2 separate regions of the Homo sapiens genome follow, and region 1 is linked to region 2. The links are contacts of gene promoters, found by promoter capture Hi-C in human tissues and cell types (Jung and others, 2019). All regions are on one chromosome and are shown on one strand. Each heading gives the region's core, a stretch centred on a gene start or on the middle of the fragment in contact. The rest is flanking DNA. Distances are from core to core; before and after follow the strand shown. Region 1 has its middle 34 kb from the start of ISG20. Region 2 holds the start of ACAN (aggrecan).

Evidence for each region. Contacts are between HindIII fragments. The study calls those that stand out against the background at their distance.
Region 1: a contact is called between a fragment that was not itself captured here and the fragment with the promoter of ACAN in region 2, in 1 of the 25 tissues and cell types used here (H1 embryonic stem cells).

The regions. Positions count from the first base shown.
Region 1 is chr15:88,671,008-88,675,584 of GRCh38, reverse strand. No RefSeq gene overlaps it. Among named protein-coding and RNA genes, the nearest start is that of ISG20, 34 kb to the right of the region's middle. The HindIII fragment of the contact is 3,597 bases long and covers 1-3,086 here.
Region 2 is chr15:88,799,949-88,804,878 of GRCh38, reverse strand. ACAN (aggrecan) reads right to left here and starts at 1,443. Exons shown (of 19, transcript NM_001369268.1): 1 at 1,070-1,443. LOC105370960 (a long non-coding RNA gene) reads left to right here and starts at 1,361. Exons shown (of 3, transcript XR_001751648.1): 1 at 1,361-1,429. The HindIII fragment of the contact is 7,348 bases long and covers 1-3,290 here.

The DNA of each region.
Region 1 (4,577 bases), core at 39-2,538, 130 kb after region 2:
ATTTCTGTCACTGCAGAAAGTTCTTTTGGACTGCCTGGCATTATATAATCCTGGGCTATATTGCTAGATGCATATATGTTTATGTTTATGTCTTCTTGGTCTGTGTTCCTTTTATTAATCCATAAAATGCCTCTTTGTCCCTTATGATGTTTGTTACTTGAAATTCTATTTCTAAGAATTTAAATTTGCAACCCAAGCTTTAATTGGTTTATATTTATTCAACACATTTTTCTCCATATCTCTTTTTACCTGCCACACCTAAAATCTACAAATTTGTTAATAAAATGTTTCTGTTTTCTTGCTGATCAAAGTGATAAAGCAATCACAGAAAATAAAAAGACATTTGATACAAAATTGATACAAAATCACAGAAAATAGACATTTGAGCTTGTTGAAAAAAAAATCACATTAAAAAAATTCATGTTGGTTGATTCAGATCTATCTCATTGATATTCAGCAACCATTTTTCTGCTTTTATTGACTTCTTACTGAATTTCTCCTGGGAAGCAATAAAAAATAATTTGTTTCCTTAAATCCAATCACTTTCTGTGGCAAGCTGAAAAATGGTCCACCAAAAGATATCCACATCAAATCCCTGGAATCTATGAATGTTGCCTTACTTGGAAGAAAGAACTTTGTCAATGTTATTAAATTAAGCACCTTGAAATGAGGAGCTAATCCTGGATTATCTGGGTGGGTCCTGAATGCTATTGCAAGTCTCCCCATGAAAGAGAGGCAGAAGGAGATTATACGTCACCACATGCAGAAAGGGCTATGTGAAGATGGAGGCAGGCGTTGGAATGATGCTGCTGTAAGCCAAAGAACACCATGGAATGCCAGCAGCCACCAGAAGCTAGAAGAGACAAGGAATGGATTCACCGCAGAGCCTGCAGAGGGGGGCTGGCCTCGCCAACACCTTGATTTTAGATCTGGCCTCCAGAACTGTGAGAGAATATATTTCTGTTGTTTTAAGCCCTCAAGGTTGTGATATTTGTTACAACAGCCCTAGGGAAAAATACACTCCTATAACTTCCCTATCTTCAGCCAGAACTCCAACTCTATTTTCCGCCAACAAGAAGTTGAGAAATTTCTCAACTTGTAATTTCTCAACTTTTTCCAACTACAATTCAAAATATCTCTCTAGCCACCTTTTCTAACCCCTCTCCCATTGGTATGGTCAGAACTATTCTTCCTTCCTTTTCCCCAGGCTAACGTCTGCATTCAAGCTCTGTCCCATCTTTTATATTCCATGACCCTGGGCCTTCAGTCACCCTCTCTGAATAGCACTGCTTTGTTGTTGCTGTTTAAAAATAATTATATATTGGATACGTGAGATGCATATAAATAACATACCAAACACCTGTATACCTATCACCTAAGAAATAAACCATTATTAATATAGTTGAAGCCCTCAATACCATTCACCCATCTCCCCCACTGCATTTTATTTGATTTGATTTTTCTATAAAAATAATACCTAAATAATTCTTCTAAAAATTAAATATCACAAAGATTATAATAAAAAACAGTGGCCTCCTGGCCAAATGCTCCACATCACACATAACTGCTACCCAAAGGTAAGCATTTTCCAACCATTTAGCTTTTTCTTCCTGTAGTTAGTTCTAATTTCTAAACAGTACCCGTATGTTGATATTTCTTTGCCATCCTATTTGGAATATTACGTACTGACTTCTTCCTATGAAATATGAAGATATGGCCGGGCGAGGTGGCTCACACCTGTAATCCTAGCACTTTGGGAGACCAAGGTGGGTGGATCATCTGAGGTCAGGAGTTCAAGACCAGCCCGGCCAACATGGTGAAACCCTGTCTCTATTAAAAATACAAAAATTAGCTGGTCATGGTGGTGTGCGCCTGTAGTCCCAGCTACTCAGGAGGCTGAGGCAGGAGAATCACTTGAACCTAGGGGGCGGAGGTTGCAGTGAGCCAAGATCACACCACTTCACTCCAGCCTGGGCCAAAAAGCAAAACTCAGTCTCAAAAAAAACAAACACCTGACGTCAGGAGTTTGAGACCAGCCTGGCTAACATGGTGAAATCCCATCTGTACTAAAAATATATAAATTAGCCAGGTGTGGTGGCGGGTGCCTGTAATCTCAGCTACTTAGGAGGCTGAGGCAGGAGAATCGCTTGAACTGGGGAGGCGGAGGTTGCAATGAGCCAAGATAGCGCCATTGTACTCCAGCCTGGGCAACAAGAGCGAAACTCCACCTCAAAAAAAAAAAAAAAAAAAAGAACAAGAAGAAGATATAACACACATCTCTCCTGACCCTTCCAAAATAGTTACCTCATGATTTGGGGGAATTAAATCAATATTCAATGCTTCTATTGTTATTATTATGTAAATTATGACAAAAGGGCAACATACCTACTACTTTTGTACATTTTCTCATTCTTGGCACTAGTAATTGTCTCTCTTTTTAACTTAGTTTTCTATGTGCCTAGTATTAACTCATCTCAAACTAATAGAACCTCCTTTTGGTATGATTCCCTTTTGTTATTGACAGATATTCAGGACCCCCCTCTGCACTCTAGGTTGGCTCCTCTCTGGGCTCAATACACCGCTGTCATCTGGAGACATCCTATCCTCATCTTCCCGGGAATATCTTACACCTTTCTCTTCTACTGGAGTTCCTCTTTTTCAGTTTCCTCCTCCATTTGGGTGGAGCATATCTTCCAATAGCTTCTTTAAAAAGAGATGTGGAAGATAAGTACTTGAAGGTGTAGATTTCTTAAAGCATCACTTTATTTTGTTTTCATATTTGATCTGTACTTTGCTTGGGTATAGAATTTTAGGTTACAAGTTATGTTCCTCACTTGATGCTTTTTGATGATGTAAAAATAATTTTGTTTAAAAAAAGAAATCACTTTCCCTCAGAAGTTTGAGGCATTACATCACTGTCTTCGGTCTTCTAAAGAAGTCTGGTGCCTTTCTGACTCCTGGACCTTAGTGCATGCCCCATTACTCTTCTCTGGAGGCTTCTAGGGTCTTCCTTTTATCCTCAGTGACTTAATTTCCATAGTGATGTCCCTTGGTGTGGGTCTTCCTTTAGTCATCTTGTTGAGCCTCTAGGGAGCCCTTTGTCTTAGATGATCCATACACTTCTGTTCTGATAAATTTTCCTCCTCCCTGTTTTCTCTCTTCTCTTTCTAGAATTCCTATTCATCAGATATTAAATTTCTAAGTGAAGCCTCTAGTTTTCTTATCTGTTCTGTCCCATTTTCTTTTTTGTTTTTAATTTCTGTGGGTACATAGTAGGCATATATTTTTATGGGGTACATGGGATATTTTGATACAGGCACACAATGCATGTCAGGGTAATGGGGTATCTGCCACCTCAAGCATTTATCCTTTGTGTTGCAAACAATCCAGTTATACTCTTTTACTTATTTTAAAATGTACAATAAATTATTGTTGACTGTAGCCACTCTGTTGTACTATCAAATACTATTCATCCTATCTAACTATATTTTTATACCCGTCAACCATCTTTCCTTCCTCCCCACTCCCCACAACACTTCCCAGCCTCTGGTAACCAACCTTCTACTCTCTATCTCTCATGAGTTTGGTTGTTTTAATTTTTAACTCCCACAAATAAGTGAGGACATGAAAATAAGTGGAATTTGTCTTTCCGTACCTCACTTATTTCACTTAACATAATGGCCTCCAGTTCCATCCATGTTGTTGCAAATGAGAGGATCTCATTCTTTTGATGACTGAATAGTACTCTATTGTGTATATGTACCACATTTTCTTTTTCCATTTGTCTGTTGATGGACATTTAGGTTGCTTCCAAATCTTGGCTGTTGTGAATAGTGCTGCAATAAACATGGAAGCGTGACTATCTCTTCAATATATTGCTTTCCTTTCTTTTGGGTATATACCTAGCAGTGAGATTGCTGGATCATCTCATAGTTCTATTTTTAGTTTTTTAAAAGAATCTCCAAATGGTTCTACATAGTGGTTGTACTAATTTACATTCCAACAACAGTGTACAAAGGTTCCCCTTTCTCCACATCCTTGCCAGCATTTGTTATTACCTGTCTTTTAAATAAAAGCCATTTTAACTGTGGTGAGATGATATCTCATTGTAGTTTTGATTTGCATTTCTCTGATGGTCAATGATAATGAGCACCTTTTCGTATACCTGTTTGCCATTTGGATGTCTTCTTTTGAGAGATGCCTATTCAGCTCTTTTGCCCATTTTAAAATCATATTATTAGATTTTTTTTCCTATAGAGTTGTTTGATTCCTTATATATTCTGGTTAATAATCCCTTGTCAGATGGATAGTTTGCAAGTATTTTTTCTCATTCTGTGGGTTGCCTCTTCACTTTTTTGATTGCTTCCTTTGTTGTGCAGATGCTTTTTAACTTGATATGATCCCATTTCTCCATTTTTGCTTTGGTTGCCTGTGTGTGTTGGTATTACTCAGGAAATCTTTGCCTAATACAGTGTTCTAGAGAGTTTCCCCAATGTTTTCTTTTAGTAGTTTCATAGTGTGAGGTCTTAGATTTAAATCTTTAATCCATTTTGAATTCATTTTTATACATGGCAAGA
Region 2 (4,930 bases), core at 194-2,693:
TTGTATTTTCCTCCTGGCAGCCAGCCCCACAGAACCAGAATTTACACATCAGTCAACATGCTGGAACTCCAGCTTCTTCATGGTGAAACCCTAGTAGGATCCTGTCAGAACCCAGCTCATGACTGAAAGGAGGATAATGATGGAAAAGTTTGGGTTGGATCCTGTCTCACAACCAGAGACAAGCCCCCACCCCCGCAGCTTGCTCTGCCCAGAGTGTGGTTCAGTTGACATACTGACAGCCTCCAACCCAGCCCCAGGGTTGGAAAGGGCTCCTGCTCCACCAGCATTGGCTTCGTTTGAAGAGGAACCCACAGACGGAAAAACCGCTCGTGGTCGTGTGTCCTCAACTCCCCTCCCCTTTCTTCCTTGAGAAATGCCCCTTCTTGGTTGGACACCCGTGTGTTCAGGGCACTGCTCTCCTCTCCCCTGCTGGCAGTTCAGTAGCTCTGTCCCAGGTTCTGCCACTCTCCCCTGGGCAGACTCTTCAGGCACTCTGGTCCCTGGAGTAAGCCAAGTGGCCAAGGATGGACTATCTAGCCTCGGCTTAGGACCCGCTGTGTCCCTGACATAGTGTCCATATGATTTCATTTATTCTTCCAGACCCCGCGAAGGCCTTTTCCCTCTCAGCTGACAGACGGCAGGCCAAGGCTCAGGAAGGTGAAGCACACCTTCCAGCTCAAAAGTAGCACCTCGGGGATTTGAACCCACATTCCCTTGACTCTGAAGCTGCTACTCTGTCAACCATGGGTCTTTCCAGACCCTAGGATTTAAAATCACCTAGGTGTTTGGAGAAAAGGCTCCCTTGTTCCTTCATCCTGGCGGACTAGGAGACAAGTGCCCCTCCTCACGTGTTCCTTTGCCCCATTCACTGAGTCTGCAACAGCCAAAAAGTTTGCTCAACTCCACCGCGGACGCAGCCGGTGGATGTGCTGCGCCCCCGGCACACATAGCTCTAGGGCGGAGACCAAGGCAGTGCAGCCCCCAGCCCCGGGGCGTGCAGTCTCAGTCCCGTTCCTGGCTCGCCGGGCGCCCTGGGAGAGCCTCGCTCTGGAGGGAAGGAGACAGTTACCTTGAAGAGTTGGACTCCCTTCTCCAAGAACTTCAGTCCCACACACCTGGCGAGGCAGCTGGGGGCTCCTGGGGCCGGGAGGCCCGGGTCTCGCTGCGTAGCGAGGGAGACGCTCTGCGCGGGCGCTGCGCACCCCTCCTCCTGCCGGCGTCCTGTCCGCAGGTCCCCTCGGGCTGTGGCCGCAGCGGCAACTGCTGGGTTGCGGAGTCCTGGCTGGCTGAGGGAATGGACACTGAAAGGTGCCCGGAGACCCTGGCACCCGCGTCAGACGCCGGCCGGCGAGGGTGCTGAGAGAGAGAGACCTTGAGCAGCGCTGCGCGCGTCCTCAGCTCTGCGAGCCCCCTCTGGAGCGGCGGGGAGGTAGGTGGGCGGGCGGGCGGGCATGGCGCGCTGTGACACATACATAGGGACGGGCGGGGGAGGGGAGGGCCCGTGAGGGGTGGGGGCGGGAGGGGGCGAGCGCAAAGGGAAACCCCACCCCCAGGGACCGAGGGGCGGCCGACAGGGGGAGGGGAAGGCAGAGGCGTCTGGAGCGCGCTGGACCCTGGCTCCGGACCGGCGCGCCGATGGGGAAGCCGGCCTGCGCTCAGGGCGGGAGAGGAGCGCTCCCCGGGGCGGCGCGGACCCGGCAGCTCCGGGGCTGGCGGGAGGAAGGCGGCGCGAGAAGGGCTGGAGGGCCCGCATCTGCATTGCGGTCGGCAGCTCCGCAGTCGGAGGGGCCCAGGAGGGCTGCACCCTCAGAGAATCCCCAAGTGCCCGGACTCTGAGGCCGCCGCGGCGGGACAGGGCTCCCGGGCGCCCGGCGGGGTTCTGCAGCTGAGGCTGGCCACGACGCGATCTAAGGAGGGTGCAGCCCGCTACTGTCGGCCACGATTTGGAACGACCCTCACCGAGGAGCTGGCTGAAAGTTTTTTTGGGGGTGGCGTACACCGGGATGGCAGGGGATGGTGGAGAGGGGGAGGTAAGGCGTCAGCGGGGAGGCTCACGGGGAGCTGCGAGTCTCTGGGTCTTCAAATTCCCCGGGAGAGACCAAGGACATCTCATATGAAGCAGGAATTCTCCAGTGTCTCTACAGTACTCTTTAATACCGTTTTCAGGAAAAGGAGAAAAAGAACTAGCAGCTTTTGAATCCCTCCTATGAGCCCGTTGTGTAACATACATTAACATTTCATTTAATTTTTCCAAAGAGCCCAACAAGGTAAATATGGCAACTTCCCACCTGCCCCTAACCAAAGATGTGAAAACTGAGGCTCAGAAAGTGGTGGAGATCCCTCTTGAAGGTGGGACTGAGTTCGAGTCCCAGGTCTTGTGCTCTCTGCTACACAGGCTGCTGGTTGAGCCACAGCACCTTCGGAGGACTCAAGCTGGCTGGTGACCTTCAGAGTTCTTGTGGAGGAAGCTGGTGGTGCTTCACACCAGGATGTGGTGGCCACAGTCAGGATGGTGGTGGAAGCTTCCTGACCCTCTCATTGGGCAAGAAGAGGAAGAAGTGGAATCTTTCGGGACTCCCCACTACAGAGATAATAGACCACACTTTAATCAGTTCCTTGATGAAAAGGAACTGAAGTGCCTCGGTTTCCCCAGGGCGACTCCACTGGAATTATGTGGTTATTTTACTGGCCATCTCTGCCTGGGGGCGGGACTGGCCCTGGCCCAGCACATGCTCTGTGAGCCGCCTGTCTCTCCCCTGTCCAGGGCAGTGAAGCCCCGTCGGAGGGAGCATAGTGCCCACTCTATCCACCCACCTCTCAGAGCAATGGCTAAAGTGTTCCAGTGGTTGGCCATTCTTGATTTCACCCTTTTTCTACCTGAGCGTATTGAGTCAGGTCTGTAAGTCTTGAAGCATTTAGGACACAGACAAAATGCTGGTGACCGAAGCCCCTTAGGGGGTGATAGTGGCTTCTCTCACAGATAAAGAAATGAGATGAGGCCGGGCGCAGTGGCTCACGCCTGTAATCCCAGCACTTTGGGAGGCCGAGGCGGGCGGATCACGAGGTCAGGAGATGGAGACCATCCTGGCTAACACGGTGAAACCCCATCTCTACTAAAAATACAAAAAAATTAGCCGGGCGTGGCGGCGGGCGCCTGTAGTCCCAGCTACTCAGGAGGCTGAGGCAGGAGAATGGCGTGAACCCGGGAGGCGGAGCTTGCAGTGAGCTGAGACGGCGCCACTGCACTCCAGGCTGGGCGACAGAGCAAGACTCCGTCTCAAAAAAAAAAAAAGAGATGAAATCTTAATAGTTACTGGCCTCAATGCCTGGAACAGGGAGAAATGACCCTCTGGGAAAAAAACAGTCCCTGAAATTCCAACGAGGTCATGGATTCTCATGCCTGTGTTTACCTGATGCCTTGTGGGAGAACAAATTGCTCTCATTTGTAAAATGGGTTCATGTCAACATTCATCCTAGGGCAGGTGGGGTTAATGAAGAACAAGTCAAGGGCAAATATTAATTAGGCGATTTATCTTTGTATTGAAGGGAACAAATGTTTATTGATCATCTGGTTTTGTAATGAGTCTAAGAAACATATATTGGGCACCTATTATGTGTCAGATGCTGCTTGGTACAGCAGCCTCTCAGATGGATGCCATTCCCATTTACACACTAAGAAACCAAGACTCAGAGGCCATCAAGGTAGTGAATGGGATTGGAGTACAGGCTGGTATGAATTCACACTCCCTAGCCCTAAAGGATACAAAAAACCCAGGATAATGGCAACGCATTTGGACACTTTAAAGACAGTATTCAGAGAGTCAAAGGACATGCGTGTCAGAAGGCCCTTGGTGGCATACACAGGCTCTTCCTGTCCAACTCAGGAGCTCTGTTCCAGTGTAATATTTCTGAAGCTGGTCATCTCCTCTTCTGCTAGAATACTTTACAGTTGCCTAATGCCTTTTCCAGGCTGCCCGATGCAGTCTGCTGTAAACTGGCAATTTCTAACCTCTTGCTGCTCAGAGTATGTTCTATAGACTGGCAGTGTCACCTGGAAGCTTATTCAAAATGCAGAATGCCAGGTTCCCCAGACCTACTGACTCACAATCTGCATTTTAACAAGATCCCTCCCGTGTTGTATATGCCTGCTGAAGTTTGAGAAGCACTGTGCTGACATCATTCAGCAGGTTCTACTCATTCAATCACAAATCACAGAATAAGAGAATCTCAGAGCTGGGAAGAGCTCTTGGAGAACTTTAAGGACACCCCTCCATAGAGTATGTCAGTCCTGTCCATGATGTTTCCCTCAAGTAGGACATCAGACTCTGCTTGGATGTGGCCATGAGTTTGACTCCCTTCTGAGGCCACATCCATTTTTTTCACGTGGTTCTTGTATTTAGGCAGCTTTCAGCTTTCACAGAAGCTCATGCCCAATACTGTGGATTCAGCAGTGAACAAGACAGGCCCATTTCCATCCCCCCAACCCTAACCTGTCCCAGGACCTCCTGCCACGTGATAAACCTTTCTGTTTGGAATCAGTGATCTCAAGTCTCTCCCTTCTCCCTTTTGGATTGGGTCCAGAGGAGAGCTCACCTCAATAACCTGGGTCCTGTGCTTCTGGTAATGCAGCCAACATTTATGTGCTTTTATGACAGCCTCATCATGACTCATTTGGAGCCTGCAGCCAGCTCAGACTTCCTTTTCACAGTGCTTCTGCCACCTAGCATCTCCTTTGGCTTATCCTGGTACAATGGGTTTTTCCAATCCAAGTGTGGGGCTTCATTTTTGCTTCTTTTAAACATTACACTAACTAATTCAGTTTACTACTTCAGATCATCTTGGATTCTGACTCTATTATTCTGTGTGTTTGCCATTCCTCTTAGCAGCAGACATTCTACAAAGCTAACTAGTGTGCCACTTCTATGTTTTC